Regions from separate parts of the Homo sapiens genome. Here all the other regions are linked to region 2. Evidence: promoter capture Hi-C in 16 types of primary human blood cells and fetal thymus (Javierre and others, 2016). All regions are on one chromosome and are shown on one strand. Each heading gives the region's core, a stretch centred on a gene start or on the middle of the fragment in contact. The rest is flanking DNA. Distances are from core to core; before and after follow the strand shown. Region 1 overlaps LOC105371574 (a long non-coding RNA gene). Region 2 holds the start of EPN2 (epsin 2). Region 3 has its middle 16 kb from the start of LINC02094.

Region 1 (2,734 bases), core at 187-2,686, 220 kb after region 2:
ATCCTGAAAAGATATCTCAAAAGGCCAATCTTAGATTCTACAATAGTGATGTTATCTGCAGGAGTAAGTGGGGAAATTGCATGTCTTGTGAGCTCTGGAATAATGGTAGTGATTGTTTATGTGTACTCCTTGGCAGAATCCAGGCTTCTCTTCCTCCTAGCCTGGTGGTCACTCACTAGCTTTACAAAGGCAATTGAGTTTTGGGAAAGGGCTATTAAAATTTAAACTATAAACTAAATGTCTCTCAAAGTTAGCTTGGCCGAAGCCCAGGAATAATTAAAGGCAGCTTGAAGGCTAAAGGCAAGAGTGGGGTTGGCTAGATCAGATCTCCCCCTCTGCCATAATTTTCTCACTGTTACAATTTTTGCAAAGCCAGTTTCAATGTGACTGGAGGGAGGAGAGGGTCCTTGTTCTCAGGAAAACAAAATCAGTCTGTGGAGGGAGATCTGTCCTCCCCTGTGGCTACTCAGTGATTATAGCGCTGCACAGTTGACCCTCGAACAACACAGGTTTGAACGGCATGAGTCCACTTACACGCAGCTCTTTTTCAACCGAATGAGGATGAAAAATACAGTATTCATGGGATGCAAAGCCCACATTTACAGAGTGTTGACTTTTCCTGCAAGGAGGTTTGGCAGGGCTGACTGTGGAAGTTGAGTATGTGGGGATCTGGTTATATGCCATTGGTCCTGGAACCAGTCCCCACATAGATCAAGGGACGACTGTATTTGATATTATTTAGGAAGCTTCTGAGCTCAGATTGGCCATTGGTTGAAAGAGTTATTATCAAAGTTCTAGAATCAATAGAAAGGAGTGTCTGTGTTACAATAAGAGGTGGTGGAGACCAAGGTTTTAGGCAGGCGAAGCCTCCACGTAGCAGGCTTCAGAGAGAATAGAGTGTTAATGTTTCTTGTCAGACTTGAGAGTCTGTTCTGTCAATCTTAAGGCCTCTGTGTTGATGTTCATGCTGGTCAGCTGTGCCAGAATTCCAACAGGGAGAAGGGTATAATGAGGCACACCTGATTCCCCCTTCTCATCATGGCCTGAACTGGTTTTGCAGGTTAACTTTGAAATGCCCTCGGCTAAGGGGAGGGGTCTGTACAGATGTTTGGGGGGCTTAGAATTTAATTTTTTGTTTACAGTGGTTTTCTGCAGCTCACCACTTAACATTAAATCTGTTTCCTCTGTTCCTAAATTGGCAAGCTGATCTTATCTATTCAAATGCAGAAAATCTTTTTTTTTTTTTTGAGACGGAGTCTCACTGTCACCCAGGCTGGAGTGCAGTGGCACAATCTTGGCTCACTGCAAACTCCACCTCCTGGGTTCAAGCGATTCTCCTGCCTCACCTCCCAAGTAGCTGGGATTACAGACACACGCCACCATGCCCAGCTAATTTTTGTATTTTTAGTAGAGATGGGGTTTCACCATGTTAGCCAGGCTGGTCTTGAACTCCTTACCTCAAGTGATCCACCTGCCTTGGCCTCCCAAAGTGCTGGGATTACAGGCGTGATCCACTGTACCTGGCTCAAATGCAGAAATTCTGAAGCCTGAAGTCCCTGTACAGTTGGAGCTTTTGATAAAACTTCAGGTTTCTTTAAAGGGCCTTCTTCAACACTCCACCCCTAGGCTGTGTTCAAAACTGCAGCGTAACTGAGAAAACGGTGGCAGCCTGGGGTGAATGCAGTCCCTCCCTTTTCCTAATCCATGAAACTCCTCTACATGAAAACCACTTGAAAGTTACAGACATGGAGGGAGGGACTTTATGTCTTCCTTGGGGGCAGCCAAGACAAAGAGGGATGCTAAGCAGATTATCTTGGTATTAATCATTCAAATGCAGGAGTGGAGACTTCAGGACTCAGGCCTAGCAGGGGAAGGTTGTGGCTCATGAACCCCTGCTTACAGCCTGGCACCCTCCTACTGCAACCGTGCTCTACGGACAGGTTTTCATCATTCATCCTCATGTTCCACAAGGTGTTCCAGAAATCCTCTGCCCCATTCCACACACCCACCGCAGTAGCCTGGTCAAGTGATTTCAAGTGGGTCCTCACCACTAAAAAGAGGAAGATGGACAAACTTTTACTCGCGTCCTTGTGAAGAGCCCACCAAACAGGCTTTATGTGAGCAATAAAGCTTTTAATCACCTGGGTGCAGTCGGGCTGAGTCCGAAAAGAGAGTCAGCAAAGGGAGATAGGGGTGGGGCCGTTTTATAGGATTTGGGTAGGTAAAGGAAAATTAGTCAAAGGGGGTTGTTCTCTGGCTGGCAGGGGTGGGGGTCACAAGGTGCTCAGTGGGGGAGCTTTTGAGCCAGGATGAGCCAGGAGAAGGAATTTCGCAAGGTAATGTCATCAGTTAAGGCGGGAACAGGTCATTTTCATCTCTTTTGTGATTCTTCAGTTACTTCAGGCCATCTGGATGTATACGTGCAGGTCACAGGGGATATGATGGCTTAGCTTGAGCTCAGAGGCCTGACACAAACATGAGTGAACGCCACAAATGGCACCTCCATATGAGGAACTGGGGCAAAAGGAATAGAGCGAGGGGGCTTTTGTTTGGCAAATTGTGCCTCTAAGACCCACTCTCAGGGTTGTATTAAAAAATGTAATCGATGTTTAAAAAGCTAACACAGAGCACAGGTATTTGAGGACTAAGCTCTGATTTTTTTCTTATCTTGCCCAAATTCCTATCTAAAGGGTCTGGAGAGTCATGCTCTACAAACCATAAATTCTCATCAGAT
Region 2 (2,700 bases), core at 166-2,665:
TGGTTAACTGGAGAGTGTTTCTAGCATCTAGAGCTACCAGTGTTTGACTTTTCAAAGGAAAAGTGGCTATGTGGTTTTGCAAACGTGTTACAAGCTCTCTCCATTTTTATCGTATTTATTGTATCACTAGCTAGACTAATAAAGAAAAAAGAGAAGATACAAGTAAACATAATCAGAAAGGGCAAAGAGGACATTACCACCGACCCCATACAAACACAAAAAAGCCCTCAAAAACTATTATGAACACGTCTATGCACACACACTAAAAAACTTACAATAAATAGATGAATTCCTGGAAAGATACAACCTTTTTTTTTTTTGCCAGAGAATGGAATTCCAGATCCTGGGTTGTTAGAACCTTAAGGGATACTTTCATCCCCTGGTTCCTGTACAGGGAGGAGGAATCTGAGGCTCAGAGAAGTACAGTGACTTGTTTAAGGTCCCTCAGTGAGTTAGGGCAGAGGAAGACTTCTGGCCACAGCTTCCCTGAAGCCAAGGCTAGGCAGAGTGTTGATGTCACCCAGGCAACAGGGATGGTGCCCTCTGCCCACCTAGCAAGCCCTGACTCATGCTCCGCGCCCCTGCTGTGAGAAGTCTCTGCTGACTCCCACCCTGATTGGAGCAGGTTAGTCAGCTTTGAGGTGCAGCCTCCAGTTCTGGCCCCTCCAGTTCCGGGACTCTCATTCGAGGCATTTGGGGCTGTCTCATTTCTGTGCCCAGCACAGGGCTTGGCACAGAGGAGGTGCTTTGTGGGTGCCCGCCAGTCAAGGGTTTCCGTTTTCGTGCCATGTAGGTAACCCCTTGCCATTCGTGCCCTTAGGTAACCCCTTGAGCAGCCTAAAGAAGCCTAGAGACTTCTCCGTTTTTGAGTATATTTTATTGACGTGAAATACACGCACGGAAAAGCGCACAAATCCAAAGTGTACTTCCGCGCATCTTCATAAAGTGAACACACTTGTAGCCTAAGAACCCAACCCTACCAGCGCCCGGCAGGCCCTGGCCCCCTTCCAGTCTCTCCTACTGAACAAGGTTTTTGAGTGAAACCGGCAGGCCGGAGCGTGAGTTTCTGCTTGACGGGGCGGGGTCTGCGCGTGCTGCCCGGCCGTGAGTGTGGGGGGGCCGTGAGTGTGTACGGGGTGGAGTGGCCTGAAGGGGATTAGAGTGCGCGCGTTCGGGTATTAATTTGCCAGGGTTTGTGTGGCGCTCGGGATTGGGGGTTTTTTGGGGGCTCGGGCGTCGACTGTGGGGCGCTGCGGAAGGGTGGGTCGTCCGCGTGGGGTCCTGGAGCGCAGGAGGCGGAGGGGAAGCCGCGCAGGGGCCACTAGGGAGGGGCTCTGGCGGGGTCGCAGGGGCGTGGTCTGCGGGCGTGGGGGCGGGACCTCGGGGCCTCGGGGGCGGGGCCTGAGGGCGCGCGCACGCGTCCGGCGCGCCCCCTCCCGGCCGCCATGTTGGCTGGTGTGTGGGTGTCAAACTGAGCCAGACGCGGCGGTGGCGGCGGCTCCGCGGGCTACGGTCGCTCCCGCCTCTCGAGCGCTGCCGGTGGCCGCAGCGGCGCACCCACGCCGGCCCGGAGGAGCAGAGGTGAGCCACAGCCCGTGGGGCTCCAAGGCCAGAGCGAGTCCCCGGGGCGAGGACCCTCCCCCTCTCCAGGGCGCGGACGCCCCCAGAGCACAGGCTCCCCTACCTCACCAGCCCCGCCAGGGCATGCGCCCCTGCCGCCCCGCTGGTCCCTACGCCAGGCTCTGGGGGATCCCCTTCTTTCCAACCAGGCCCCGCCCCACGGACTGGAGCATGGCCCCCTTCCCATCTGGATCCAGCTTTCCGCTGCAAGGATCTCCCCCCTTACCCGTCCCTATCACCGAGCATCTCCTTTTATGTCCCCAGAGTCCAGGGCGCCCCTTACTCCTACCTCGGATCCTGGAGCCCCGTTCATCTTGGAACAACCCCGCCCCCTCCCCAGAGCACGTTCCTCCTCTCCCCGAGCCCGGCGCCCCTTCCTCCTGAGCCCAGCCTGGTCTCCCGCCAGCCCCCGTGCAGAGCCCGGTCCGGGCGCCCTCCGGGAATCGGGGGAGGGGTCCTTATCTCTGTCCGGGATCCCGCCCGTCTCACCTTTCCTGGGGGCTGTAGCAGGGCCCCCTTCCGTCCTTGGGGACCAGGCTCCCCACTCCCCAGCCCCCACTCCCACGGAACAGCGGGGACGGGGGCGGAAGAGCCAGGCTCCAGCTGCCTTTTGTTCCGCGTGGGATGGCAGAGACCCACCCGGCCCGGCGGTCCTGCTCGGCTGATCCGGGTGGGTGAATGGGTGCGTGGGGTCTGGCCTCTTCCAGGAGAGACTTCCTCTCTCTCCCTGTGGGGCGGCTCCCCTAGAGCCGAGAGCCGAGCGCGTTGGGAGGCTGGCCTTTGCTAGAGGAGTCGGTGCCAACAGGTTTTTGTTTGCGACCTGAAGTTTGCCCAGTGGCTTTCCCTGGGGCAGCTTGAGCTCCCTGTGAATCCCCCCGCCGGAGCTTGTGGAAGGCCGTTTCTCCGCCCAAGGAGTCCGTCTGGGCGACTCCTTCACAGTTGTGCTTCCCTGGGGACGTATCTAAAATCTGTGCTTTAAGAGCGGAGAGGGCTTAACCATCATTAGGGTTCAGATGAGGGAAACTGAGGCCCAGAACTGCAGTAATTTGCCCAAGGTCACGCAGTGATACTGTGTCAGTG
Region 3 (2,700 bases), core at 141-2,640, 200 kb after region 2:
TCCCTGGCATCCTTCATTCATTTACAACATTTTACAAAATAATTTAGGTAAGAAAAAAGACTAATGTATAATCAGGGAAACAAAAGTTACAGCTTCCTAGGTTACAGCTGCCAGTTTATGTGACTCAGGTCCCATAATCACATTCCCTTAAGGCTCAAAATATTTTAAGGTTCCAAAAGCTTAGATTTTGAATTACTTATTTTCACACCCTATATATGTTAACCACGTATTTGCTTTATCTTATGTACAACGTCACTGAGCACCAATCAGAATTGTAGGAATGTCACCTTTGCTTCTCCATTTCCATGTAACAGAATGTATAAATACTATCTCGTGTAGCCCACTTGGGGAGACATTTTTGGTTTGTTCTGAGTCTGTATTTCCCAGAGAATTAGTCCTCAAACTTCACTCGGGATAAAACTAACTTTAAATTTCTTTAAGTTATAGTGCCTGTTATGTAACCTTTCTGTCAATAGTATCCTGCTCACAGCACCAAAACTTAGGGGGCAAGGGAAAATTCTGCTGAAAAATCAACTCACAATAGGTAAATTAATAGGAGAAATGACATAGAAATGTACTAATATCCACAGAAGGAAAATCGCAGTGATTACCCCCACTCCCCAGTGGGGTTCTGAAGCTTATGTACTATCTTGAGGTTACATTAACAATGGGGGCTCACAGCAGGGCCAAAACCAGATTACAGTGTTAGATCAGTTTATGGCGGCAACAGAGGTTATGGAGGGGAAGAAGAGGAGGGCTGGCTAGCAAAGGGGGTCTTGTTATGTAGATGAAGCCTCACAGGTAGCGGCCCTCGAGAGAGAATAGGTGGTGAATGTTTCTGTTAGACTTTAAAGGTGTCAGACTCTCGCTTAATCTTTCCCAGATCTGGATGAGGGAAGGCCTCAGAGACAGCCTGGCTTCATCAGTGCAGATTTCTCTACAGATGCAAATCTCCCCCACAAAAGGCAGCTTTTTAGTTATTTTTGTATTTCCAACCCTTCTGAATATCTGCCTTGAGCTATGTCGAGAAAATATATTTTATGGTAAAATCATTTGATTTCCTTCAGATGCTTTGATATTGTGATTTTGATTTTTGTTCCTGGTTCCTGGCATACCAGCTCCTAAACTCTTGGGATGTCTGGAGTGATAAGTGTCTTTTTGTATGCTAGTGAGATGATTAGTGGCTGGGGGTTCCCAGATAGCCTTAGGATGGGGCTGGTTGACACGGAAACCAACCATACAATTAGAGGTTTGGCACTTTCAGCCCCACCTTCTAACACTGGAGAGTAGAGAGGGCCTGAAGCTTGAGTTGATTACCAATGGCCAATGATTGATCAATCATGCCTACATAATGAGCCTCCAGAACATTCCAAAAAGATGGGGTTCAGAGAGCTTCTGAATTGCTGAATAGATGGAGCTGTCTGTAGGGTGGCATGCTTACAGGATGCCATGGGGGTGTGCTGCAGGACAGGACATGGAAGCTTATTGCCCCTTACCTTCCATACCTTGCCCTATGGATCACTTCTGCCTGGCTATTCATCTACATCCTCTGTAATATTCCTTACTAATATAATAAGCTGGTAAACATAAGTAAATGTTTCCTTGAGTTCTGTGAACTTCCTAACAAATTAGAACGGGGTTGTGGGAACCCCAATTTATAGCTGCTCAGTTAGATGCATAGGTGACAACCTGCTACTTGCAATTGGTGTCTGAAAATAGGCCAGTCTTGTGAAAATAGAACTAAGCCTTAACCTGTGGGATCTGACACTATGCCCAGGTAGAGTGTCAGAATTGAATTGAATGGGAGGACTCCCACTTGGTATCCACTGTAGAACTGCTTAGTGTGTGAGGACAAGCCCACAGACATCTGGTGTCAGAAGTGAAGTGTTGTGTTGAGTGGTGTGAGTAGGAAAAGCAGTTTGTTTTTTTCATCTCTCTTATTAAGACCCAAAGTAAGGGCTTGAGCCCCTATAATAAGTGTAGCAGCTCCTGCCATAGCTCGAAGGCATCCAGGTACCCAGAAGAACTGAGAAGTATGCTACTGGTCTATCGTCTAATACCAACTTTTGAATTAAATTCTACTGTGGCAGGCCAGGTCTCACTAACAGCTGAACAGGCAGGCCTCCATGCCAACTGCTTCGGCACTGAGTGGTTAGGTTAAATATTAAAAGCTGAAAGACCCAGGGCCCCTATACAAAGGCTGGAATATAACAGAAGCCCACCAAGAGTCTTGCTTAGGCCTTTTCTGGGCCTTGAAGCATGACAGGATAATGAAGGAATTCTTAACAGGACCTGTTTAGAATTAAACAAGTTTTATTTTTTATTTTTTAAATGGAGTCTCACTGTGTTGCCCAGGCTGGAGTGCAGTGGCACAATCTCAGCTCACTGCACCTCCGCCTCCTGGGTTCAAGCGATTCTCTTGCCTCAGCTTCCTGAGTAGCTGGGACTGTAGGCATGTGCCACCACGCCCAGCTAATTTTTGTATTTTTGGTAGAGACGGGGTTTCACTATATTGGCCAGGCTGGTCACAAACTCCTGACCTCAGATGATCCACCCACCTCCGCCTCCCAAAGTACCGGGCATACAATAGGTGTAAGCTGCCATGCCCGGCCAAGATTAAACAAGTTGGGTTTTTTGTTTTGTTTTTGTTATTTTTGAGACAGAATTTTGCTCTTGTTACCCAGGCTGGAGTGCAATGGC

What was found. The method cuts DNA at HindIII sites, captures the fragments that hold promoters and counts their contacts. A CHiCAGO score of 5 or more calls a contact.
Region 1: a contact is called between a fragment that was not itself captured here and the fragment with the promoter of EPN2 in region 2, in 7 of 17 cell types (total CD8 T cells, neutrophils, endothelial precursors and 4 more). The highest score is 7.7, in total CD8 T cells.
Region 3: a fragment that was not itself captured here is called in contact with the fragment with the promoter of EPN2 in region 2 in 11 of 17 cell types (megakaryocytes, naive CD8 T cells, total CD8 T cells and 8 more); the score reaches 7.8 in megakaryocytes.

What each region holds. Positions count from the first base shown.
Region 1 is chr17:19,456,258-19,458,991 of GRCh38, forward strand. The region is part of intron 1 of LOC105371574 (a long non-coding RNA gene); the gene reads right to left. Among named protein-coding and RNA genes, the nearest start is that of LINC02094, 39 kb to the left of the region's middle. RefSeq lists enhancers at 1,731-2,276, 2,277-2,734. The HindIII fragment of the contact is 1,384 bases long and covers 745-2,128 here.
Region 2 is chr17:19,235,951-19,238,650 of GRCh38, forward strand. It overlaps EPN2 (epsin 2), which reads left to right and starts at 1,416. Exons shown (of 11, transcript NM_014964.5): 1 at 1,416-1,581. RefSeq lists a silencer at 1,324-1,793. The HindIII fragment of the contact is 5,263 bases long and covers 1-2,700 here.
Region 3 is chr17:19,432,688-19,435,387 of GRCh38, forward strand. No RefSeq gene overlaps it. Among named protein-coding and RNA genes, the nearest start is that of LINC02094, 16 kb to the left of the region's middle. RefSeq lists an enhancer at 510-1,048. The HindIII fragment of the contact is 178 bases long and covers 1,302-1,479 here.